3 separate regions of the Homo sapiens genome follow, and all the other regions are linked to region 2. Evidence: promoter capture Hi-C in 16 types of primary human blood cells and fetal thymus (Javierre and others, 2016). All regions are on one chromosome and are shown on one strand. Each heading gives the region's core, a stretch centred on a gene start or on the middle of the fragment in contact. The rest is flanking DNA. Distances are from core to core; before and after follow the strand shown.

What was found. Contacts are between HindIII fragments. The CHiCAGO score rates a contact against its expected background, and 5 or more counts as called.
Region 1: a contact is called between a fragment that was not itself captured here and the fragment with the promoter of IL6ST in region 2, in 1 of 17 cell types (naive B cells). The highest score is 5.9, in naive B cells.
Region 3: a contact is called between a fragment that was not itself captured here and the fragment with the promoter of IL6ST in region 2, in 1 of 17 cell types (total B cells). The highest score is 6.5, in total B cells.

Annotation. Positions count from the first base shown.
Region 1 is chr5:57,208,447-57,211,933 of GRCh38, forward strand. The region is part of intron 2 of GPBP1 (GC-rich promoter binding protein 1); the gene reads left to right. Among named protein-coding and RNA genes, the nearest start is that of GPBP1, 36 kb to the left of the region's middle. RefSeq lists a silencer at 3,170-3,335. The HindIII fragment of the contact is 407 bases long and covers 1,136-1,542 here.
Region 2 is chr5:55,993,129-55,996,594 of GRCh38, forward strand. It overlaps IL6ST (interleukin 6 cytokine family signal transducer), which reads right to left and starts at 1,835. Exons shown (of 17, transcript NM_002184.4): 1 at 1,656-1,835. It overlaps IL6ST-DT (IL6ST divergent transcript), which reads left to right and starts at 2,039. Exons shown (of 2, transcript NR_102755.1): 1 at 2,039-2,426. RefSeq lists cis regulatory regions at 603-2,921, 1,615-2,288, a silencer at 1,566-2,045 and an enhancer at 1,877-2,388. The HindIII fragment of the contact is 8,053 bases long and covers 1-3,466 here.
Region 3 is chr5:57,241,286-57,244,554 of GRCh38, forward strand. The region is part of intron 6 of GPBP1 (GC-rich promoter binding protein 1); the gene reads left to right. Among named protein-coding and RNA genes, the nearest start is that of GPBP1, 69 kb to the left of the region's middle. The HindIII fragment of the contact is 5,442 bases long and covers 1-3,269 here.

The DNA.
Region 1 (3,487 bases), core at 89-2,588, 1.2 Mb after region 2:
GGTCCTGAGCCACTGAGCTCAAGTGATCTGCTCACCTTGTCCTCCCACAGTGCTGGGATTATAGGCGTGAACCACTGTAGCCTGGCCGGGTGTTGGAATTTTAATAGAGATTACGTTGAATCTGTAGATCATGTTTGGGTAGTGTTGTTGTCTTAACAGTGTTGAGTTTCCCAGTCCTCAAACACAGGGATATCTGTCTTTTGTTTTTCTTTTTTTTTTTTTTTTTTTGAGACAGAGTCTCACCCCGTCGTCCAGGCTGGAGTGCAATGGCGTGATCTCGGCTCACTGCAACCTCTGCCTCCTGGGTTCAAGCGATTCTCCTACCTCAGCCTTCCAAGTAGCTGGGATTACAGGTGCCTGCCTCCATGCCCAGCTAATACTTTATTTTAGCAGAGATGGGGTTTCACCATGTTGGCCAGCCTGGTCTCAAACTCTTGACCTCATGTGATCCACCTGCCTGGGCCTCCCAAAGTGCTGGGATTACAGGCTTGAGCCACTGTGCTGGGCCAGGGATGTCTTTCTGTTTAGGTCTTTTAACATTTCTTTCAGCACTGTCTTAATAGTTTTTGGTGTGCAAGTCTTAACATTTTCTTGGTTATATTTATTTATTATAGGTATTTTATGCTTTTGGATTTTACTGCGAATTGAGTTGTTTTCCTAATTTCTTTTTTGGATTGTTAATAGTGTATACACAAACAGCTGTTTTTGTGTGTTGATCTTCTATCTTGGCAGCGTTCCTGAATTTAATTAGCTCTAATACATATTTTTTCTGGACTCTTTAGAATTTATGTAAGATCATGTAATCTGTGAATAGGAATAATTTTACTTTTTCCTTCCCAATTTGGATGCCATTTAAAAAAATACGACACTGTCTCACTATGTTCCCCAGGCTGGAGTGTAGTGCTTTTCACAGGTGCCATTATAGCACTCTACAGCCTCAAACTGTGGGGCTCTAGCACTTCTCCCTTCCCAGGCTCCCAAGTATCTGGGACTACAGGTGCTTTGCACTGTGGTGGCTCAGGATGCCTTTCATTTCTTTTCTTGCCTAGTTGCTATGGTTAGAACGTCTACTACAGTGTTGAATAGAGCTTGTGAAAGCAGGGCATTCTTGTCTTGTTCCTGATCTTAAGGGGAAAGCTTTCAGTCTTTCACCATTGAGGATGATGTGCTGTGGTTTTTTTTAATAGATGCTGTTTATCAGGTTGAGCAAGTTTCCTTCTTGTTTCTAGTTTGTTGAGTATTTTTATAATTAAAGGGTGCTAGATTTTGTCAAATGCTTTTTCTGCATCAATTAAGATGATCGTTTGGTATTTTTCTTTCATGTTATTAATGTGGTGTATTATTGATTGATTTTTGTATGTTGAGTCACTCTTGCATTCCTGGGAAAATACTACTTTGTATGGTGTTTAATCCTTTTAATATGCTGCTAGATTTGGTTTACTGGTATTTCATTGAGGATTTTTACTCAGTACTTTGGTTGTAGTTAGAATTCCTTAGCTATTGGTTGATTTTGGGTGTTTTTGATGGTCTTTGTGATTTTAAAGCTTATTTTAAAGTTTTCTGAAATCATTATAAAGACAGTAAGTTTGTTATTCTGATGAAATCAATTTGAGTAAGTTTTTCTTTGAAAACGTGGCACAAATTTGGTAGGGTCAGAAATAAAACATAACAAGAAAGAGAAAAAAGTCTCATCTATTTGTATTTTTTGCCAAAGTGTATTCTTTTTCAGTCTGAAGAATAATCTTTTTTTAAAAATTAAAAGTCAGGCATGTGCACTTAAAGATGTACACTTAGGTTTTATTTTTTTCAGAACCAGCTTTCTCCCGGGGAAATTTTTATTCTTCATGGATGTCGTGAATAAATTGTAAATTGGGTGACAGAGAAAAAAATTAGGGTTTTCATACTAGCAGTATTTGTGTATCTTAAACTCTTTATGTCCACATGGGACCTTCAGATATGACAGAATCCAGTAGATTTCTTAAAAAAAATTTTTTTAAGCCAGTCAAATTTAGTATTGGGGGGCCAGTAGAAGATTTCTAATAAGCTGTGGAATCCTGACTCCTGAGTTGTTAGTAGGACTGTTGATTTGCCTTTTTTGAGGGGGAGGGTAGTTGTCTCCTGTATGTACCTGGTTGTTGTGTATGTGTAAAGGAAATATTTAATACATAAACATTTTAGTTGGTCTATTTCTAAAGTTGTTTGTAGTTTACTAGGGCTGCCATAACCAAATACCACAGACTGGGTGGCTTAAACAACAGACATTTATTTTCTCAGTTTTGGAGGTTCTAAGTTCAGGGTAGAGGCATCAGCAGAGGGTTGGTTGCCTCTGAGACCTCTCTCTTTGGCTTGTAAATGACTGCCTGCTTGCTGCCTCTTCACATGGTCCTTTTATCTGTGCATGTGTCCAAATTTCTTATAAGGGCACAGTCTGATGGGAATAGAACCCACTCTAATTGCCTCATTTGCAGTTAATCACTTCTTTAAAGACCTTATCTTCAAATATTGCTACATTTGAGGTATTGGGGGCTATGACTTCAACATACAAATCTTGTTGGTTGGGGGGACACAGTTCAACCCATAACATACACAGGGAAAGGAAGAAGAGACAAAATCAGATGGCACAATGCAGTTAAGATGAGTGGTGTGGAACTTGTGAAACTTTAATTAGCCTTTATATACTTGTGTAACTGCCATAGCCATAACAATACTGCCTTTTTTTTTTTTTAAATCTTTTTTCAGAACATGAGTTAACTTCTTTTTTTGAGATAGGATCTTCTCTGTCACCTGGGCTGGAGTACAGTGGCGTCATAGCTCACTGCAGCCTCAAACTTCTGGTCTCAAGCAGTCTTCTTCCCTCAGTCTCCGTAGTAGCTGGGACTACAGGCATGGACCACCACACTCAGCCGGTTTTTAAAATTTTTTGTAGAGACGGGAGTCTTACCATGTTGCCAAGGCCGGCCTCAATCTCCTGGGCTCAAGGGAGCCTCCCACTTCACTTCCCAGAGTGCTGGGATTACAGGTGTGAGCCTCCACACCAGGCCCATACTTTAAGAACTAGATTTAAATTAAAGTTAATATAAAGACATTGCAGAAATGAATAGGTGATTTTAGTGGTTTGCCTCCGGGGATTTTGTTGTTGTTGTTGTTGTTGTTGTTGGAGATGGAGTTTCCTCCTTGCCCAGGCTGGAGTGCAATGGCGCGATCTCTGCTCACTGCAACCTCCGCCTCCCGGGTTCAAGCAATTCTCCTGCCTCAGCCTCCTGAGTAGCTGGGATTACAGGCATGCACCACCACGCCCGGCTAATTTTGTATTTTTAGTAGAGACGAGGTTTCTCCTTGTTGGTCAAACTCCCAACCTCAGGTGATCTGCCCACCTCGGCCTCCCAAAGTGCTGGGATTACAGGCGTGAGCCGTCGTGCTCGGCCATTACGTAACTTTTTACCATTTTGTATGATATGCCTTTTTGAAAATTTGTTACCAATTTTAA
Region 2 (3,466 bases), core at 585-3,084:
GAATTCTGACTCCCATTAAAATGAGCAGCTCTGAAAGGAGGGAGCGGGGAATCCCTCCCTGCCACTGTAGAGGATTTATGGGTTGCCCTTAAGTTCCCAAACCAAATTGTGGCACTGGGGTTTTTATGAGAAACGTGTCAACATGACAAAATGATTCAGAGCACAGGATTTGGAGTCACACAGATCTAGTTTTCAGCGAGACTCCTGTTTCCTTCTCTATAAAGGGGACATTTTAACACCTACTTCACATGTATTTAACTTTCGCCCTAACACTGAACTGAAGTGCAAAGCCTTGGAAACAAATTTAAATAAATTGAAAATACTGCAATTCACAAATAAGAGTGAGAACAACATTTTTAGTTACGTAAGACTATATTATATTAAATTAGGTGGCAGCAGTATTTATAATAATCTAAATTGCCTGTGAGAAAATTAAACTGGTATTGTCAATACATACTTAAAATAAGAAAAAAATCCCACTACAGTCTGTCCTTTTTGACACTTTCTCCTTCCTGTAATTTTTTTCTTTCACTCAAGATTAAAAACAAACGTTCAAGATTATCCCTAAAGAGAAATAGTTGGAAAGCACAATTTAATAGCAAGTTGGTTCTATAAATGTAATATTTCAGTTCATAGTTCAAAAATACTTCCAAATAGGAATTAACATGAATTTAAGAAATTAACATAATGGCACACAGCTAAACTGATGATCTGAGTCCGTAATTTCAAATTAAGAGTTGTTCCAACTTGAAGCTGGCAGTCATACACAGTTTAAAGGGTTTGTTTACAGCACTGTCAAAAGCAAATACCACAATCTTTCAGAAAATTCACCCTGGCATTCTAATAACTAGTTATTTTAAGGCAGTATAATTGTTGAAATACTTCACAAACTAAGCCAAAATGCGTTTCCTTCTGAAGGCAAAAAAAAAAAAAAAAAAAAAAGGTGACGTCTTATTTTTAACCTGTGATTTTTTTTTTTTTTCAGTTTCGGATTATGAAATAAAATGCTGTTCATCCACTGAAGAACAGACCCTTGCTTCCTGCACTATCTTCAAAAGTTTAGGTCGGAGGAGGTAAAATTTTAAAAACTGATTTGTTCTCCTTGGGATACAGTGAGATGTGGAATTCGTTAGGAATGATAATTATTAATAGAAAAGATCAAAAGAAGGAAAGAAACGTTAATAGTGTTTATAAGCATTGTGAACTTTCAACAAAGCTGAAACGTTACGATTTCAAGATGAAAAAACGGCTTTGGGGAAGGGAAATCCACCTCGAGAATGAAGACAAGTGCGGAGCGAATAGAATTTCAGGGGAGATGAAAAGGGGATTGGGAAAAACGTGGGATCTGGTAACAAAAAGGGGGGTTTGTTCTTGAAGGGCGTTCTGCGGGGCGGGCGTTAAGAGGGGTGCGTGCGTGCGCCTGGGTGAAGTTTGTACTCAGGGCTGCGATAATCGAGGTGACAAAGTTGTGGAAGTAGAATTCGGAGGTCCGGGAGCAGGAAGGGGAAGGAATGTGGGGATTTCCAGGCTGGGCTGACAAGTTCCGGGCGCTGCTCTCAGGGGGAAGGGAGGTCTCCTCGAGTGCCAGATAGCCCGTCCGAAACCACCGACACTCTAACTCCAGCTACGCGACCCAGCACCCGGCCCCTCCTCACCTCAGGCCGCGCCGCCTCGACCCTCCGCGTCTCCACAGCGCACGAACCCCTTGGCGCCAGGCTGGGCCAGACCCGTCGGCCTGGCAGGCGCGGCCCCCGGTTCAGCTGCGCCGGGGCGGCCCAGCGCGACTCCGCGGGCCTTTTGGCTGCTCGCCCCGGCTCCGGAACACTGTCAGATCCTTCTCCGCAGAGGTAGCGCGCCACCCCAGTCCCGCGGCGGGGCGGGGCGCTCCCCAATCCCGCCCAGCTGCGCCCCCGGCCGGCCAACGCTGCGCCCCGCCCCCTACCGGGACCTAGGCGCTGATTGGCCCCTGAGAGACCCTTTGCGCCCAGGCATTGGTCCAGTGGCCGCCTGTCGACGAGGGGGCGGGACTCCGAGGGGTAGCGATTCCCGTAACGCGGCTCTTCGCGTCCCGGATTCCGGTGGCTGCGTCCGCGTCGCCTCTCCCAGACTAGATCGAAGGGTTCCCCCCACCTCCCCTCTGTGGGCGGAAAGAGCGGAATGTTCCATTTTTCTGTGGAATAACGGGGTCATGAACTGGAGCCCGGGTGCTGCCCGCCGCCCGCTGCCCCCGCCCTCCCTTCTCGCCAGGGCGCCTGCGGCCTCTCTTCGCGGCCTTCCCCGAGGGACTCAGAGCCGCGAGGGACCGCCTAGCTCCCTTGGGGATGGGGAAGGCGTGGGAGCCTCTTGGGGAAAGTGAAGAGCTCGGTGGCCGTGACTCCGCACGAGACTGCGGCAGATTGTGGCGGCGGCTTCTCTCCAAGACTTACGTAAACGAGCCTTGCCACAGTACTTTTTTAAATTAGTAAATGAGTTTGGGTGCGATTGATCAGTGAGCCCCAGAGGTGGTGGCCCACCAAGCGACTAGTGTTTCTTTGCGGTTTGTACCTCCCCGTTTATGATAAAAAATACCGGGTAAAAACCTATTCATCCCGCCTCCGCCCCCCCCTTTCCCTCAGAAAATGGACCTCAAGGCTCATGATGTTTGTTTCTCCCCAAAGGAAGATGAGAATCTTGAGTTAAAAGATAAGGCATGTGCGTGCGTGCGTGTGGGGTGTGTGCGTGGGTGTCTGTAAAAGTAAACACCCAAAGGTAGAGGTTTTTGTGGAAGAATGAGAGGATATAGGAAGGAAATAATGGTTTAATGAACTTAAATTATATCCATAAATTAACAATTATAAAGTTCTTCATTATATTGAGGATTCAGATAGAGTAAAACATAGATCGAATTTTAATCTCTTAGTTGTTGATCAGATAATTTATAAAAGGGCAAAGTGGGCCTGCTAACGGAGTCGCAGGCAAAGTAGATGGTGCTGCAGCTGATGTGTTCAGCTCTTGCTCCTCCCTGTCATCCTATATCTAACCTATAGATTGTGACCAGATTCTGTTCTAGCTTTGCCATTTAGAGGGGTGTTTATTTTAAAACAAATTTTTATAAAAATTTGTTAAATTGAAAATTTTGTATAGATCCAGGAAACTTGATTTTTTTGTTGTTGTTCACAGTCTCACTCTGTCACCCAGGCTGGAGTGCAGTGGCTGGATCATGCTCACCGCACGTTCAAATTCCTGGGCTCTAGCGATCCTCCCACCTCAACCTCCCAAGTATCTCAGACTACAGGTGCCCCTACAATACCTGGCCAATTTTTAAAATTTTTGGAGAGACAAGATTTTGGTATGCTGACCCGGCTGGTCTTGAACTGCTGGCAACAAACGATCCTCCGGCCTTAGTGGCCTCCCAAAGTGCTGAGATAACAGGTGTGATGCAAAGATGTATTTAGGGGAGATGTATAGTGGTTAAATGTACCCTCTG
Region 3 (3,269 bases), core at 161-2,660, 1.2 Mb after region 2:
GCAGTATTTTTGTTCTAATTTGTCTTCCTGAGAATTGGGCCAGTTCCCCGTCATCACTGCATTTATAGAAGAAAACTAATTCTTACATTCATAGGTATGGGAAGAGCATGAATAACAAGACAATAAAAGTGATATTTAATATTTAAAGTCAATTATAGGGCCAGGATTGGTGGTCCAGGCCTGTAATCCTAGCACTTTGGGAGGCCGAGGTGGGAAGATCAGTTGAAGCCAAGAGTTTGAGACCAGCCTGGGCAGCATAGTGAACCTTGTCTCTACAAAAATAAAAATAAAAAGGTCAGTTATTGTCAGGCTACATTTATTTGCGAGGATAGAGGGAAATAATGTTAAGAAAATCCAAAGGTCACATTTGCCTTCAGTTGTTCTGAAATTTGAACATGAGAATACCTGTGTAGGTGAGGTTGATGTAATAAGCACATGAAACTTATAGAAGATAGTCACTTACTTTCTCATTTTATATAGGTATTAAGGTCTGTCATCAATATATAAGTTTTCTCTTTTAAAATGTAAACATTTGGGGTCTTCTTCATATAATTAACCAAGTCAGAAAGTAAACATTGGATAATGTTTGACTCTAAGAGCTTAAATACTTGGCAAGGTTTTCCTAGGAGAATTTGTGGAGAAAATCTGTGAATAGATGAGCCAATTTTTAAATAATATAAAATGGGGATACATGATGCAAATTAATTCTTGCCTTTTAGTCCCACATCCCTTCTTCCATTACTTACAGGTTATTGTTACCATTAAGAACACTTCTTTTTCTTAAATGAGCAGGTTTATGTCGATTATTCAGAGTTGTTACACAGGACATAGATTGGTTTTATCATGTCTATCTTAAAGTTTTTCTTTTTCTTACTCTTACCAGTCAACCTAAAATTCTTTTTTCCCTCTGATATCTAATTGCAGGTTAAGCAACCTGAAATTCTTGCAAAAGGACACCTTTAATTTGAATTGTAATTGGAATCCTATGCTAGTGACAGTGTATGGCTTTTCTGTATTGTTTTCTAATAATTATTTGAATATGAAACATTCCACAGTAAATCCCAGACAAGAGCTATTGTTTTTCATTTTATAGGTGAGAGATTAAGTAACTTATATAAGATTATACAACTGGTAAGGTTGGAGCTAGTATTCAAATTCTGATAAATCTGGTACAAAAGTACACATTCTTCTGTAATATTTAAATGTGAATTCTTTTTGCAGTTTTTGAGTCAGAGTCTTGCCCTCTCCCCCAGGCATGAGTGCAGTGGTGCGATCATGGCTCATTGCAGCCCCAGCCTCCTAGGCTCAAGCGATCTTCCTGCCTCATTTTTAAATTTTTCATGGAGATGATGTCTCATTATGTTGCCCAGCCTGGTCTTGAACTCCTGGGCTCAAGTGATCCATCCCACCTTGGCCTCCGAAAGTGCTGGAATTACAGGTTTGAGCCACCATGCCTGGCCTAAATATGAATTATTATTATTTTAAATGGAGTCTCACACTGTCGCCCTGGCTGGAGTGCAGTGGTGTGATCTCATCTCACTGCAACCTCTGCCTCCCGGGTTCAAGTGATTCTTCTGCCTCGGCCTCCCGAGTAGCCGGGATTAGAGAGGCCTGCCACCACACCTGGCTAACTTTTTGTATTTTTAGTAAAGACAGGGTTTCACCATGTTGGCCAGGCTGGTCTCAAACTCCTAACCTTGTGATCCGTCCGCCTCAGCCTCCCAAAGTGTTGGGATTACAGGCGTGAGCCACTGCGCCCGGCCTAATATGAATTACTTTTTTTGTTTTTTTCTTTTTTTTGAGATGGAGTGTCACTCTGTCGCCCAGGCTGGAGTGCGGTGGTGTGATCTTGGCTCACTGCAACCTCCACCTCCCGGGTTCAAGCAGTTCTCTGCCTCAGTCTCCCGAGTAGCTGGGATTACAGGCGCCTGCCACCATACCTGGCTAATTTTTGTATTTTTAGTAGAGATGGGGTTTCACCATATTGGCCAGGCTGGTCTTGAACTCCTGACCTCGTGATCCACCTGCCTCGGCTTCCCAAAGTGCTGGGATTATAGGCATGAGGCACCGTGCCTGGCCTAATACGAATTCTTAATAAGCACAATAACGGTATATCCCTCCCCTTTCCTCTCAGTCCCTATCCTCTTTCTTCAGGGACTTTTGTCATCTCTTACTCTGCTACCTACTCTTCTGTGAATGATTTCTTAGGTTTCACTTTCCTTCTTTATAGAATATTTCATCATTCTTTGTACTGAAGACCTCATTGAGGAACTAGCCAGAATATTTCTTACTCCTAGGCATCTAGGAATCCAGCTTTAGGAAAGGTGAAATTTGTACTCAGAAACTATATTGAGGCTTAAAGATAGTATATCTACTTGCCTATCTAGTTTTCATGTCTTCTGCTTCCTTGTTTTTGTTTTGAGACAGGGTCCCACTCTGTGGCCCAGACTGGAGTACAGTTGTGCCATCACAGCTCACTACAGCCTCAACCTGGGCTCAAGGGATTCTCCTATGTCAGCCCCCCAAGTAGCTAAGACTACAGGTGCACATCACTGTGTCTGGCTAATTGAAAAAATTTTTTTTTGTAGAGACAAAGTTTCACTATATTGCCCAGGCTGGTCTTGGACTCCTGGACTCAAGCGGTCCTCCCACCCTGGTCTCCCAAAGTGCTGGGATTACAGGCATGAGCCACCACACCCAGCCTACTTCCTGGATCTGATACCTTCATATTTATAAAAATTTTTATTTCTTCTTATATCTTCAGCTTTCCACATTGGATCATTTTCCTTCTGCCTAAAGTACATTCTTTAGAATTAGTAAGGATCTTTTGAATTATTCTATTTTTATCAAAGTTGCATTTCTGCCTTCTACCATATCTGGCATTTTCAAGTCCTGATCCCTTTGAGGCTCTATGTGGTAGATTAGGTCCTCCTCAGCTGTTAGGTTCCTTTGTGTACACTCTAAATTGAAACTTTTTATTTACTTCTCTAGAACTGTGTGTTGAAATCATTTTCTTGCTGATGACTCTACTCCTATTTTATATAGTTGTGTTTGGTTTCCTCCCTTACAGTAATTTTAATATAAGAATCTAGAAGAAGATAAACTTGTGTGCTTAGCCACATTGAACTAGAAGTCTCTGTTAGCCATGTTTAAACTTACTTAGTTGTAGTATAGTGATAGAACTGCCCCCTGCTTTAACACCTGGATTCCTCTCAGATGAGATTACCTTTCACATTTTGTAGCACTGATCATTCCTCAGATTCCTGGGC